Linked DNA regions of Homo sapiens: regions 1, 2 and 3 are each linked to region 4. The links are contacts of gene promoters, found by promoter capture Hi-C in blood cells and fetal thymus (Javierre and others, 2016). All regions are on one chromosome and are shown on one strand. The core of a region is centred on a gene start or on the middle of the fragment in contact, and the rest is flanking DNA. Distances in the headings are between cores, read along the strand shown.

Region 1 (3,502 bases), core at 174-2,673, 900 kb after region 4:
GCCTCCTCATTCGTGGTTTGGGTTCCCTGGTCACTAGATCCCAGGTGGACAGTGCTAAATTTGGGCATGCCACTCACTGCAGTTTAGTCACACCTTAGTCTCACGATTTGGTTTTTCTGGAGAACCCTAACTAACACAGTACCTACAGGGTGTTCTGTAAATATACATGTTTCATCAATGCATGGATTTGATTTTGGTATTTTGAGTCTCCTCTGGGCATCAGTCTACAACTCATCTTGGGGATGGTTTATACCTGCAAATAGTCCACCTTATTAACTGCTTTCTTCCTAGTTTCTCAGTGAGTGACATTTTCCTGACCTCTTTTCCAGAATCTAGAAGCAATTTTCCAAAGCCCATTTCCTAAAGGAGGCCCTTACACAGAGCAGTATATACCCAATAAGGGTCTTTCCTTTCCTTTCCTTGAACCCTTATCAAATCTTTCTAGTCTTTTTTTTTTTTTTTTTTTTTTTTTGAGATGGAGTTTTGCTCTTGTTACCCAGGCTGGAGTGCAATAACGCGATCTCGGCTCACCGCAACCTCCGCCTCCCGGCTTCAAACTATTCTCCTGCCTCAGCCCCCTGAGTAGCTGGGATTACAGGCACACACCACCACGCCCAGCTAATTTTGTATTTTTAGTAGAGATGGGGTTAGTCAGGCTGGTCTCAAACTCCCTACCTCAGGTGATCCGCCTGCCTTGGCCTCCTAAAGTGCTGGGATTACAGGTGTGAGCCACTGTGCCCAGCCAAATCTTTCTAGTCTTTCAAGGGTAAACTGATACACAGCTCTCCAGTTTCTTTATTTGTGTCATTTCATTTAATCGTTCATTTTATTTTATTTTATTTTTTGAGATAAGATCTGGCTCTATCACCCAGGCTGGAGTTCAGTGGCACAATCTCAACTCACTGCAACCTCTGCCTCCCGGGCTCAAGCCATCCTCCCACCTCAGCCTTCTGAGCAGCTGGGACTACAGGTGCACACCACCATACCCAGCTAATTTTTGCATTTTTTGTAGAGACAGAGTCTTGCCATGTTACCCACGCTGGTCTCCAACTCGTGAGCTCATAAGATTTGCCTGCCTCAGCCTTCCAAAGTGCTGGGATTAAAGGCGTGAGCCACCATGCCTGGCCTTCACAGTTCTTTTTTTTTTTTTTTTTTTTGAGACTAAGTCTCGCTCTGTCTCCCAGGCTGGAGTGCAGTGGCGCGATCTCAGCTCACTGCAAGCTCCGCCTCCCAGGTTCACGCCATTCTCCTGCCTCAGCCTCCCGAGTAGCTGGGACTACAGGAATCGGCCACCACGCCCGGCTAATTTTTTGTATTTTTAGTAGAGACGGAGTTTCACCATGTTAGCCAGGATGATCTCGATCTCCTGACCTCGTGATCTACCCACCTCAGCCTCCCAAAGTGCTGGGATTACAGGCGTGAGCCACCGCGCCCAGCCCACAGTTCATTTTAAACTTCAATCTAGAAATGGGAATCTCAAGCAAAAGAAGGTGGATGTTTTTATTTAAGGCCCTCAAAGGAGATAAGGAAGTTCAAGAAATTTTCCAAATGGAGTTGCAAGCAGAGAGAATCATGGAGACTTACAAAGGTGCTCGATCTTAACAGGAGCTGTTATTTGTTTGCAGATTTGCCTGGGATCTTCTTGTGGGCCTACATACTCCCCATTGTCACTGCAATAGAGCCAGGATCCAGCCCAGTGCCTGGTCAGAAGAAGCTCCATTAGTGCTTAAGAACTGTATTCAATTGGAACTTTCAACCAATTCAATATGGTCACAACGGGTTGGCTCCTAGTAAGCTGCTCAGTAAGTGTTTCTTCAGGTGACGTTGGCAAATGAAAGGCAGTAAGGCCCAGTGATTTCAGATCCAGACTGTGGTACTCAGAACCATATAATCCTGGGGTCAAATCTCAGCCTTGCTTGCTTCTTTCTGCGTGCCCTGAGCCTCTCCCCTGTAGAGAACCTATTTCACATTGTTGCTATGAAAATGACATGAGATCATGAATGTGAAATTTATCATAGTATTGCTCATACTACTACCTTGGGCTGGGAACTATTCCTGGGCTTTCTCATTTAATCCTCTTGCAATTCAAAGAGGAAGGCGCTCTTAACTGCCCCACTTCTTACAGATTAAGAAGTTGAGGAACAAGGGCTGGAGCGGTGTCTCCAAGGTCACGAAGCTAGTAAGAGTGGGTATAGATCGCAGATGCAGTGGCTGGTCTTAACCGTTAAGGGAGAGCTACGAAGTCCCACGTGTGGACAGTAAGTACTCAGTAAAAGTACACTGTTACTGTTACTGCTGCTGCCATTGTGCTGGACAGCCGGGGAAAGTGAGGGGCAGAGAACTTGAGTCCCCATAGCTACTCCATAACAGAGCCAGAACCACGGGTGGCTCCAACATTCAGATCTGGGGTACCAAGCCTTGTTGCTTGTTTCTTAACTGCTTTCTCCAAGGCCTGCCCTGGGCAGCCACACCCAGAGTTCTCACGACACCCTGGAGCTCTTGCCACCCAGAAGTTCTTGCCACACCCTGCCTGCTCCCGGAAGGTAACAGGGCCACTGAAGAAGGGCTGCATTGTTGTGGCCTTAGCCTTGGCCCTGAAGGCCAGGAGGACAAACACTTTGGCTTGTAAGTACTGCAAATCAATAAACAGTAAAACTCAGAATAAATGCCCTCTTGAACTTCAACTGACCTCAACTCCAAGCTGGCTGGTCCTGAGGACAAATACCCAGGAACGTGATTCCAGGAGAGAATACTTCTGCATGGCATCCAGTTGCTACCTGGCAGGAGGGTGTTTGCCTTTGAGAGAGGTGGGGGCAGGGGTATCAAATTCTCCTGGGGAAGACAGGAAGTTTGCCAGCGCCACCCAGAGCAGAAAAAAAGTGTGGCAGTATCAATAAAGATGACAATAGCAAGAGATCTCCTTTTTTCCTCAGAGTCCTGGCCTGCATGAATAGGTGAAATCACAACAGCTAAGATTCAGTGAGTGCTTCCTGTGTAGGCCACGTGCTGCACTTAGGACCACACGCATGGGTTCGTTGAATGCACTCAACAACCCTATGGCATGGATTTTATTATTTTCATTTTTCAGGTGAGAAAACCATGGTACAGAGAAAAGTAAATCGCTTCCCCAGGGGCTGCTCGGCCCCCAGGAGGCAGAACCAGAGTCTGAACCCAAGCGATCTTTTACGGCCCTCCCCTGCAAGCTGGCAACGGAGTATTTCCCTTTATGGTCCCTCTCATTTAATTTTGAATCAGATGTCTTATGCCAAAGTATATACAGAAAGGACACCACTTTGGAAGGTATCTTTGTCCATTCTGGCTACTATAACAAAATACCATAAACTGGGTGTCTTTTTTTTTTTTTTTTTTTTTTTTTTTTGACGGAGTCTCGCTCTGTCGCCCAGGCTGGAGTGCAGTGGTGCGATCTCGGGCTCACTGCAAGCTCCGCCTCCTGGGTTCACACCATTCTCCTGCCTCAGCCTCCTGAGTAGCTGGGAATACA
Region 2 (3,243 bases), core at 283-2,782, 840 kb after region 4:
TTCTCTGTGCTTTCTCTCCAGCACAGCCAGCAGAGCTGTTTCCTGTTCTTTGTTTCAAGGCTGGGGTTTGCGTCATACATTCCAAGTGGCATATGTGTGCTCTTTCCTGTTTCAGGCTGTTTTCTGGTAGATCAGTAGCCCAGACCAGGCTGAGGTCCCTGCCCCTAAACTCCGTATCCCCACCCATGGAGTTATCATGTCTCTACACACTTGATATTGCTTAAGACGCCTGTGTTATGTCATAATGAGAAGTCAGTTAACCTTTTTACGTACACCCTTTGCTCCACTGCATTTGTCTGGGTGAATAAATGCTTTTACCTTTTTAAATTTTTTATTGCTAGATTGTGATTTGGGGAAACGTGGGTCCATCCTGGCAAAGAAACCTAAAGGAGTTTTGTTTGTATTTGTTTGTAATTCTTGTGTTGAAGTGGTTAGGGCGTTTGTTTTAAGATAGGCATTTTGCCCTGAAGCTGTCAATTTTGGATCAGGATTAACACCTTACAGTTTAGAAGACCTAGCATTATCTGAAAGATGTGGCCCACCCTCGTTCACGTTTAACCCAGGCTGCTCCAGGTGGCTTCCGTGGATGGAGAATTTAAGCAATGTTGGCAGCCTGGCTTTAGTTTAAGTCTTGCTTATGTTTGGAAGGAGAAATCTTTAGAAAAATCATTGAAGCAAAGCCTAAGACATTGAGAAAATCCCGGGATTATTTCTTTTTAAGGACAAAGATTTAAATATCAGGATAATGTTTTAAGGACAAAGATTTCACTGTGCAATATTCTACACCTCATTTCCAACCCGTTTTTAAGAATTAAAAAGCTCAAAGGAGAACTGGCATTAACAAATTCATTTAATGCTAGATTGTTTGGAAAATTTTAATCTTCTATTTTGAAAACAAGAAGAATGCTCTTCTCATTTTTGTTTTACAATAATATTTTTCATTTTTTAAAAATATTCTATCAGTTGTGGGTTAATGAATTTCTAGGATAACTATTTAAGACCTGCCTTAATATTAGTTTTCTGTTGGTTCTTGAGAAACTAAGATTTAAGGAAATATTTGCTTGAAAAAGAAAAGTTTTGGAAAGTGCTTTTGTAAACTTACTTGGGGATTTTTTTTTTTTAATCAAAAGGAATCATCTACAGCATCTCTGTGGAATTAATTTAAAGAGTTGCTGAAGCAGCAAATCAGGCTCTCTTCTCCCCAAAATTGATGATAATGGTGCGTTTTAAATGTCACATTCCACCACATTCTTTATGTATAAATGGAAAATATAAAATATGATATTAAGAGAGTTATTAGTATCAAATAGTTGGCTACTGATAACCTTCTATGAAAAAAGCTGGGAGTTTTAGAAGTCCCAATAACTTCTTTCTCCTTTGGGAAAAGCAGCTGGAAATACTTAGCTGACCTGTAGGACAAGAGACTTTTAAGCTTAAAATTCATAAGTAACTCCAATCGAAGCAGGTTTTTTTGTTTGTTTTGGTTCCAAAGTTGTTAACAATCTAACTAGGTTTGGTAAACAGAGTCTTTATTTGGCTTTCCCCAAATTCTTTCTTCTCTCTTTTGCAGGGAGATGAAGTGGTTAATAGAGATAATTAGGGTCTAATATATTCTATCAGAAAAAAATTCTGCAAGCTTCTAAATGCTAAGCTGAATAGTTGGGGAAAATTATCCTATCTTATAGTTGCTATGATTACCAGAAAGATGGGAACAAGAGTTTTAATTTCTTAACCATATAAATCATGATTCCTAATTTAATTTCATTGTGTCTCCATCGCCCCTTGAGATACTTGCCTTCTTAATATTTTCAAATCAACATTTTTGCTATAAAACGACAGATTTCTTAGGCAGCATTTCTTGTTCTCTGTTTTCACACCCAGTTGAGTTTAAGAAAAATAAAATACACACAACCTCATTCTTTAAGGTACTAGGAATTACAATTACATTATTCTGGAACTTGGATTCTTTCTGAAGTGCATCATTTATCATTGGTTCTAGCTTTTTAAAAAAGCAAATCCCTAGAATCTTAAAACAATTGATATCTAGTTTGCTAGTATGTGATATTCTAGTCAGAATTCCTCTTGGGAGTGAGTTGGAAGAGGGTTATGGTGGTCGCTAGCATTCTCATTTTCAAGACCACTCTGTTCCTTTCTTAGACCATGTTTCTCATCTTAAGCAGTCATGCCCGAGCTGGAGACAGGAAACCAGACAGCAGTCTGCCCTGATAAGGGACAGCATTGTCTGAAGGCGGGGAATAGCCCTGCTTTTACCCCCAACTCAGCTCTCTTTGCTTGAAATTTAGTAGTCATAGAAGAGGCACAATGCTGTTGACAGTTTCTGAACCAAAACTAGGATTCATTTCTTCCAAAGCAAAAAAATAGTGTCCTCGGCCGGGCGCGGTGGCTCACACCTGTAATTTCAGCACTTTGGGAGGCCGAAGTGGGTGGATCACCTGAGGTCAGGAGTTCGAGACCAGCCTAGCCAACATGGCAAAACCCCATCTTTACTAAAAGTACAAAAATTATCCGGGCGTGGTGGTGGGCGCCTGTAATCCCAGCTACTCAGGAGGCTGAGGCAGGAGAATTGCCTGAACCTGGGAGGTGGAGGTTGCAGTGAGCCGAGATTGTGCCACTGCACTGCAGCCTGGGCAACAAGAGTGAGACTCTGTCTCAAAAAAAAAAAAAAAAAAAAAAAAAAAAAAGATGTCCTCTTAACTGGCCTTGTCCTTATTCTGTAATGAATGTGACCATATTCTCTGGAACAGTAAGAAAATAAAAAAATGATCTGTGCATTTTGTATCCGTTGGCCAGAGAGTTTGTAGTAAAATTGTTTCTTTAGCAAAACAGGCTCCTGGAGGTTTTTGAAACTCACTCCATTGTGTCGGCAGGCTGAATTCATTATCATTTCTCCATCTAATTATTTAGAAGGGCTGGAGACAGAAGAGAGCAAGTTAAGTGGCCCTCTAGCCCATGCATTTCATGTAACCCCTGGGTCTGGCTCTTACCCTGTTTCCTGTAAGGGGGCGCTCCCTGAGGCAGACCCTTTGCAGGAGGACCCAGAATTGCCCTGCTTAGTCTGGGACATCCTCAGGATGGTTGCCAGTCTCTGGAAGGCTTGTGGATCCTGCCAGGGATGGCCCAGAGCTAGTCTCAACCCAAATCAGTGGAGTTTGGCCAAATCTGGACATAAGAGATCAAATGAGTATTGAGGTCAGCGGATTCTGCCCTGGAGAGCGACCTGCA
Region 3 (3,462 bases), core at 717-3,216, 960 kb after region 4:
AAGAATATTTAATCATCTAATTTATCTTTTCCCAATGATATAAAGAAATAGAAAAGAGATTAAGAACCTATTGAATGTTGAATGATCTTTGCAACATAAGAGTAAGAATGACTTCTTTTCAGTATTTCCTACGTGTCTGACATGGAGCTAAGTGTTTTATGTCCATTACCTTGTTTAATCCCTCAATGACTCAACAAAATGGCGGCCATTATTATTCATATTTTACAGATGGAGGAGCTAAAGCCCAGAGGTAAAGTAACTTGCCCAAGATGACCAACTGAAGAAGCAGAGATTTGAACCCAGACCTGTCTGGTTCCTTCTGGATGGTAACTAAACCCAAATGCAAGGCACCTCAAACCTTGAAATGAGGTGGCTTAAGATGTAACGACATCCTAAGGACCGAATCACTGAGGTTGAATCCATTGATCTGACCAGCTGCCATGGCGGCCACTTCCTCCTTTCTCACCCCATGCCCCTGTCTATGAAGCTTCATGCAGCTGCTGTGGGACACTCTGCTAGGTGCCACAAAGTTCAAGAGACTTTGCCTACATGTATAAATATATTCTTAGGAAAGTTATAAGTTCACAAGAATTGAAATAAAACTCGAAGTGCATCCTATTCCTAATTAATAGCTCAGTGTAGGTGGTCTGGGAGAAAGCTTATCAAGAAACCAAATGCTCACAGGTTGTTAACCATCCTCTTCTTTACAGCAACCACATATGGCCCTCTTTGTCCACTTCTGAAGGAAACGGAATAAGAACTGCATTGTACAAGATCCATCAGATCTGCCCCTACTTTTAAACAGGTAACACAAATGCAGAACTTTTCAACGGGGTAAAGGAGCAACAAATATGCCTTAAATAGCCAAAGGTTTCATCCAGCAGAGGTTAACATACGCTGTGGGGAAATAAGAGCTAGAAAAAACTTGCCACAGTGCATAGGACCGTTCAATCTGAATAGAAGAGCTGACCAGGTTTGATCCGCAATCAGTGAAAAGAAACCCACGCTCTCAAGCATCTGCAAGAAATTCCTCAGATCAATAGCCCCAAGGTCACTAATCATTAATCTAGACAAAATAGTAAATACTAAAAATCTAAATAACCCTACTTCCCTCCCCTCAATATTAGCTCAAATTATCTCCTTTTTAGAAAATACCCATGCAGCCCTTATATCTTTTTAATGAGAGTTACAACAAACAAAGCTAAGGTTCTTACCCCACGGCTTGCACTCTCTCAGCAGAGCTGCAGGTGCGTGGATGATTCGTTGACACGGTCAGAATTGGCTGCAGGAGGGAATTGAATCGAGGTTTTCTGTAAAGCTTAAACCCCATCCGCCCTCTTCTGCATGCTACTGGTATTGCATGTTATATATATTCATTATAATCTTAGCACTTTTTTAAATTGTGGTCAAATACACATAACATAGGAGTTATCATGCTCACCATCTTTCTATTTTTATTTTTATTTTTATTTTTTTTGAGGTAGGGTCTCACTTTGTCACCCAGGCTGGAGTGCAGTGGTGTGATCACTGCTCACTGCAGCCTTGACCTCTTGCGCTAAAGCCCGCAAGAGGCTGGGCTTCTCAGTCCCGCAAATGTCTGGGACTACAGGCGCTCACCAACTGGCCTGGCTAAGTTTTTTGTATTTTTTGTAGAGACGGGGTTTCGCCAGTTGCCCAGGCTGGTCTTGAACTCCTGAGCTCAAGTGATCTGCCTGTCTCGGCCTCCCAAAGTGCTAGGATTACGGTGTGAGCCACCGCGCCTGACCTTAAGCATTTTTAAATGTACAATTTAGTGGCATTAATTAAGTACATTCACACTGTTGTGCAACCACCACCACTGCCCATCTCCAAAGATTTTTCGTCATCCCAAACTGAAATTCTATGCCATTAAAAAATAATTTCCCATTTTCCCCTTCCCTCAGACCCTGGAAACTATAATTCTACTTTCTGTCTGTGTGAATTTGACTACTCTAGGTACCTCATGTCCGTGGAGTTATACCATATTTGGTTTTTTGTGACTGGCTTATTTCATTGAGCATAATGTCTTTAAGGTTCATCCATATCATTTCTATTATTATTACATAGAATAATAGAATCTTTCCTTCCTTTTTTAAGGCTGAATACTATTTTGTTGTATGTACGTCCCACATTTTGTTCATTCATTCATCCATCAATGGACATTTGGGTAGTTTTCACCTTTTGGCTCTTGTGAATAATGCTGCTGTGAACGTGGTGCACAAATATCTATTTAAGTTGGTACTTAACATTCTTTTGAGTCTATACCTAGAAGTGGAATTCACGGATCGTATGACCATTCTGTTTAATTTTTTGCAGAACTACCATACTGGTTTTCCACAGCATCTTAGAGCTCTTTGATGATGCTTTTCTTCAAGGTGCAGGTCGGTTATCCCTTTCATCAGTTGGGTGGGGCAGTCATGTGATGATGGGCAGGAGTAGGAATGGTGACTCCATAATTTCAGCAATCAGGCAGGAAGAGGGTGGAAAGGAGTTATCTAGAGCAGTGGTCCCCAACCCCTGGGCCACAGACAGGTACCAGTTCATGGCCTGTTAGGAACCGAGCCACACAGCAGGAGGTGAGTGGTGGGTAAGCAAATGAAGCTTCATCTGTATTTACAGTCGCTCCCCATCGCTTGCATTACCACCTGAGCTCCACACCCTGTCATATCAGTGGCAGCATTAGATTCTCATAGGAGCTTGGACCCTACTGTGAGCTGCATATGGGAGGGATCTAGGTTGCGTGCTCCTTATGAGAATCTAATGTCTGATGATCTGTCACTGCTTCCCATCATGTCAGATGGGACCATCTAGTTGCAGGAAAACAGGCTCAGGGCTTCCACTGATTCTACATTATGGTGAGTTGTATAATTATTTCATTATATATTACAATGTCATAATAATAGAAATAAAGTGCACAATAAATGTAATGTGCTTGAATCATCCCGAAACCATCTCTCCTCCATCTCCAAACCCGGTCTGTGGAAAAACTGTCTTCCATGAAATTGGTCCTGGTGCCAAAAAGATTGGAGACCTCTGACCTAGAGGCCTTTTCTTGAAGTGAAGTGGTAAAATAAGCATGGTATTTTTTAAAATGTAGATCGCAAAGTACGGATCAATTTTTAAAGCAACATTTTTGAGGTTTTTTTCATACTTGACTTAAGATTTAGGTGACTGCTGGAGATCACGAGTAAAGAAGAAAATTTCCAGATGGATTTGTCTACAGGAGGAATGATCAATTTAAACATGAATGATTATAATAGATTTATGTCTTATAAAATTGGGGAGTGGGTGGGTTCTTAAAATACATTTTTTAACTATCATATTGGGGTTTTTAAATTTAAAATGTAGTCCATGTATTTCCACATATATTGTAGGGGGAAATCACACAAAATATAAATAACTGTAAAAAGAAAAACAACAGCAAAACAAAACCAGCTCTGCTCC
Region 4 (3,078 bases), core at 518-3,017:
TCAATCAAGATACGGAACAGTTCCACAACTCCCTCAAATTCCCTTGTGCCCTAGGTAGTCAACCCCTCCCCCAACCCCCAGCTCTTGAAAATCACTGATTTGTTTCCTTTACCTATAATTTTATATATTTCAGTGTTTTTTTTTTTTTTTTTTTCAGGGTCTCCCTCTGTCTCCCAGGCTGGAGAACAGTGGCACAATCAGGGCTCACTGCAGCCTCGACCTCCCAGGCTCAAGCGATCCTCCCTCCTCAGGACTCCCTCCAGCTCCCCCACCACGAAATAGCTGGGACTACAGATGAATGATGCAGTATTTTGGGGTGACGGGGTATGGGGGTGGGTGTTTGAACTCTGTCACTCAGTGTTTGTGAGATTCATTCATGATGTTGTGTATAACAGTAGTTCACCTGCATTGCTCTATCAATGTGCCATGATTTATTTATATGAATTGGTATGGATATACTACCAAGTATTTATCCATTGTATTGTCGATGGTCATCTGGGTTGTTTCCAGTTTGAGGCTTTTACAAATAATGCTGCTAGAAATATTCTTGCCCGTGCTTTTTTATGCTTATGGGTATGCATCTTCTTTATGGCTTGGTGATACCAGCGTCAGGAAGATGTGCTCCTATGTTAGTTTCCCTAAGTTTCACGCTACTATGGAAAGAGACCACCATTTCTGCTGTCCTTCCCAGCTTCTCCCCCACCTCCCCTTTTCCCTAGTTTATAAGACAGGAGAAAAGAGAGAAAGCAAAAAGTTGGAAAAAAACAGAAGTAAGATAAATAGCTAGACGACCTTGGCGCCACCACCTGGCCCTGGTGGTTAAAATAATAATAATAATATTAACCCCTGACCAAAACTACTGGCGTTATCCGTAAATTCCAGACATCGTATGAGAAAGCACTGTAAAACTTCTTGTTCTGTTAGCTGATGTATGTAGCCCCCAGTCACGTTCCTCACGCTTACTTGATCTATCATGACCCTTTCACGTAGACAGACCCCTTAGCGTTGTAAGCCCTTAAAATGGCTAGGAATTTCTTTTTCAGGGAGCTCGGCTCTTAAGACGCGAGTCTGCCGACGCTCCCGGCCGAATAAAAACCTCTTCCTTCTTTAATCCGGTGTCTGAGGAGTTTTGTCTGCGGCTCCTCCTGCTACACTACCTTTCGCACTTAGAGATACAATTGATCTGGAGTTCAGAGCTGTGTGTGATGGGAGGTAGGGGGCCAAGTTCCCTTTTTTCTTTTCCCTACGTGGATATCCCTTTGACCGAGCACCATTAACCAAAAATAGTTCCTTCCTGTGCTCTGCAGCCCCGCCTCTGAAATAAATTGTCCATACACGTGTATTTTTGTTTCTGGTCTCTATCTTATGTTCCACTGGTCTTCCTACTTTGCTTTTCTTTTTCAAGATTTTTTTCTGGCTGTTCTTGACCCTCTGAGTTTCTACATAGTCTTCAGGCCCCTATCTGGGTGCACTTCCTGGTATCCCAGCATCTGACATGTGCCTGGCGCGCAGCAGGAACTCACGGCTGGCTGTAGCCTGGATGCATCAGAGACGATGGCAAACCCTTCTCACACGTGCCAGGTTCCAGCAACCCACCCTAGCCCCGCAATTCCTCCTCGCTCACTCCCACCCCCTGCAGCGCACCCGCAAACGGCAAGGAGGCGTGCCCGCCGCGGCGCGCGTCACTTTCCCCCGGACCGACTGGCTCCGCCGCGGCTCTCCCCGCCCCCGCCTCCGCCTCCACGTCTTGGGGCCGGGCCGGAAGGCAGATCTCACCGCCTGCTTCCCTCTGCAGCGGTAGCACAAGCTCAGCGATGGCGGCTCCAGAAGGCAGCGGTCTAGGCGAGGACGCCCGGCTGGACCAGGAGACCGCCCAGTGGCTGCGCTGGGACAAGGTGAGGGGCACCAGCAGGCGGGGAGCGCCTGGAGCGGGGCCGGGTGCTCTGCCCTCTCCAGGCGCGGCGCTGCTTGCTCTGCCTGAGCTGCCTTCCCGCCCAGTGCATCCCGCTTCTCCCCCGGGAAGACCCAGGAGCGTACGGCCGCTGCTAGGCTTCCTTCGACCTGGCCGGCATGCGGCACGTTCAGAGTTAGGCCGGGAAGGCTTGTCCCCGGACGAAACCAGCCATCCGGCCGGCCGGACTGCAAGTTCGGAGTAGAGGAGCGAGCCAGGGTGGTGTAAGCGCGGCCAGACCCTGGACGCTGTCTAGTTGAGGGGCGCACGCCTTACTGTCACTCAGACCGCTGGCTCGTCGTCGGTAGTCGGCTGTGCATCCCCATGGACCCAGAATCGCTCCGTCCCGCGTATTCCTTTGGCCGCTGAGACCTTTGCAGAGCAGCGTTCTGGTCCGGTCCTCCCATCCCGAGGGCTTGGTTACAAACGTGGGTTGTCCTCCCGGGTGGGCCCGCCTGGCTTCAGGAGTCCCCCTTAGAACTTTGACTGCCAGGGAGGCACACCTGGGACACAGCACGGTTTTCTCTCTCTTCATTCCGTTTCTTAGAATCAGGAACCCAGCTCTGGACATCACTCCCTCTCCTCTCTATAAACTTGCGTCTCGCCCTTTCGACCTGTTCTGCTTGCTGTTAGGTTTTCTCGGAATGTCCCTCGCTGCTCTCCTGCTGAACTTGTTTCTCCCGTTGTGACTCATATTTTGTGCCTGAACTTAAATGTGGCTTACGTAGAGAGTCAGTCCTTCCTTGGCTCCGAAGCGTTAAATTATTTATCCCTAATATTCACTCTAAACAGTCTGTTATTTTCCTTTATAGCTCTTACTACAAATGGTAAAAACAAAAAACTCCAAAAACACTTGTTTGTAGGTTTGTTTAATGTCTGTCTCCAGGGCCGACTTCAGGGGCGAGAGACCCCTGCAGTCTCACAGGACTCGCGCTCCTTGAAGGGCCCACTGTTGTTTTAATGTCCTGCTGTCCTGTCTTGAAAGTCTTACTGGTAAAACAAGAGGTCACCCACTTTCATTGTGCACTGGACCTCCATAAATTATGTGGCCAGGCCTCTCTATTCTCACTACCTTGGTTTGTAGTGCCTGGCATAGGCATAGTGCATGACACATAGTAGGTCACTGA

Evidence for each region. The method cuts DNA at HindIII sites, captures the fragments that hold promoters and counts their contacts. A CHiCAGO score of 5 or more calls a contact.
Region 1: a fragment that was not itself captured here is called in contact with the fragment with the promoter of PGM2 in region 4 in 1 of 17 cell types (fetal thymus); the score reaches 6.1 in fetal thymus.
Region 2: a fragment that was not itself captured here is called in contact with the fragment with the promoter of PGM2 in region 4 in 1 of 17 cell types (fetal thymus); the score reaches 6.2 in fetal thymus.
Region 3: a contact is called between a fragment that was not itself captured here and the fragment with the promoter of PGM2 in region 4, in 1 of 17 cell types (activated CD4 T cells). The highest score is 5.7, in activated CD4 T cells.

Annotation. Positions count from the first base shown.
Region 1 is chr4:38,726,213-38,729,714 of GRCh38, forward strand. No RefSeq gene overlaps it. Among named protein-coding and RNA genes, the nearest start is that of TLR10, 55 kb to the right of the region's middle. The HindIII fragment of the contact is 6,828 bases long and covers 1-3,502 here.
Region 2 is chr4:38,667,222-38,670,464 of GRCh38, forward strand. All of the region lies in intron 1 of KLF3 (KLF transcription factor 3), which reads left to right. Among named protein-coding and RNA genes, the nearest start is that of KLF3-AS1, 4.0 kb to the left of the region's middle. RefSeq lists enhancers at 1-52, 53-902, 92-141, 2,549-3,118. The HindIII fragment of the contact is 204 bases long and covers 1,431-1,634 here.
Region 3 is chr4:38,781,707-38,785,168 of GRCh38, forward strand. It overlaps TLR10 (toll like receptor 10), which reads right to left and starts at 1,284. Exons shown (of 4, transcript NM_030956.4): 1 at 1,215-1,284. RefSeq lists enhancers at 164-373, 436-605. The HindIII fragment of the contact is 1,301 bases long and covers 1,317-2,617 here.
Region 4 is chr4:37,824,919-37,827,996 of GRCh38, forward strand. PGM2 (phosphoglucomutase 2) reads left to right here and starts at 1,768. Exons shown (of 14, transcript NM_018290.4): 1 at 1,768-1,895. The coding sequence starts at 1,815. RefSeq lists enhancers at 237-406, 1,439-1,940, 1,941-2,440 and a silencer at 1,651-1,950. The HindIII fragment of the contact is 6,567 bases long and covers 1-3,078 here.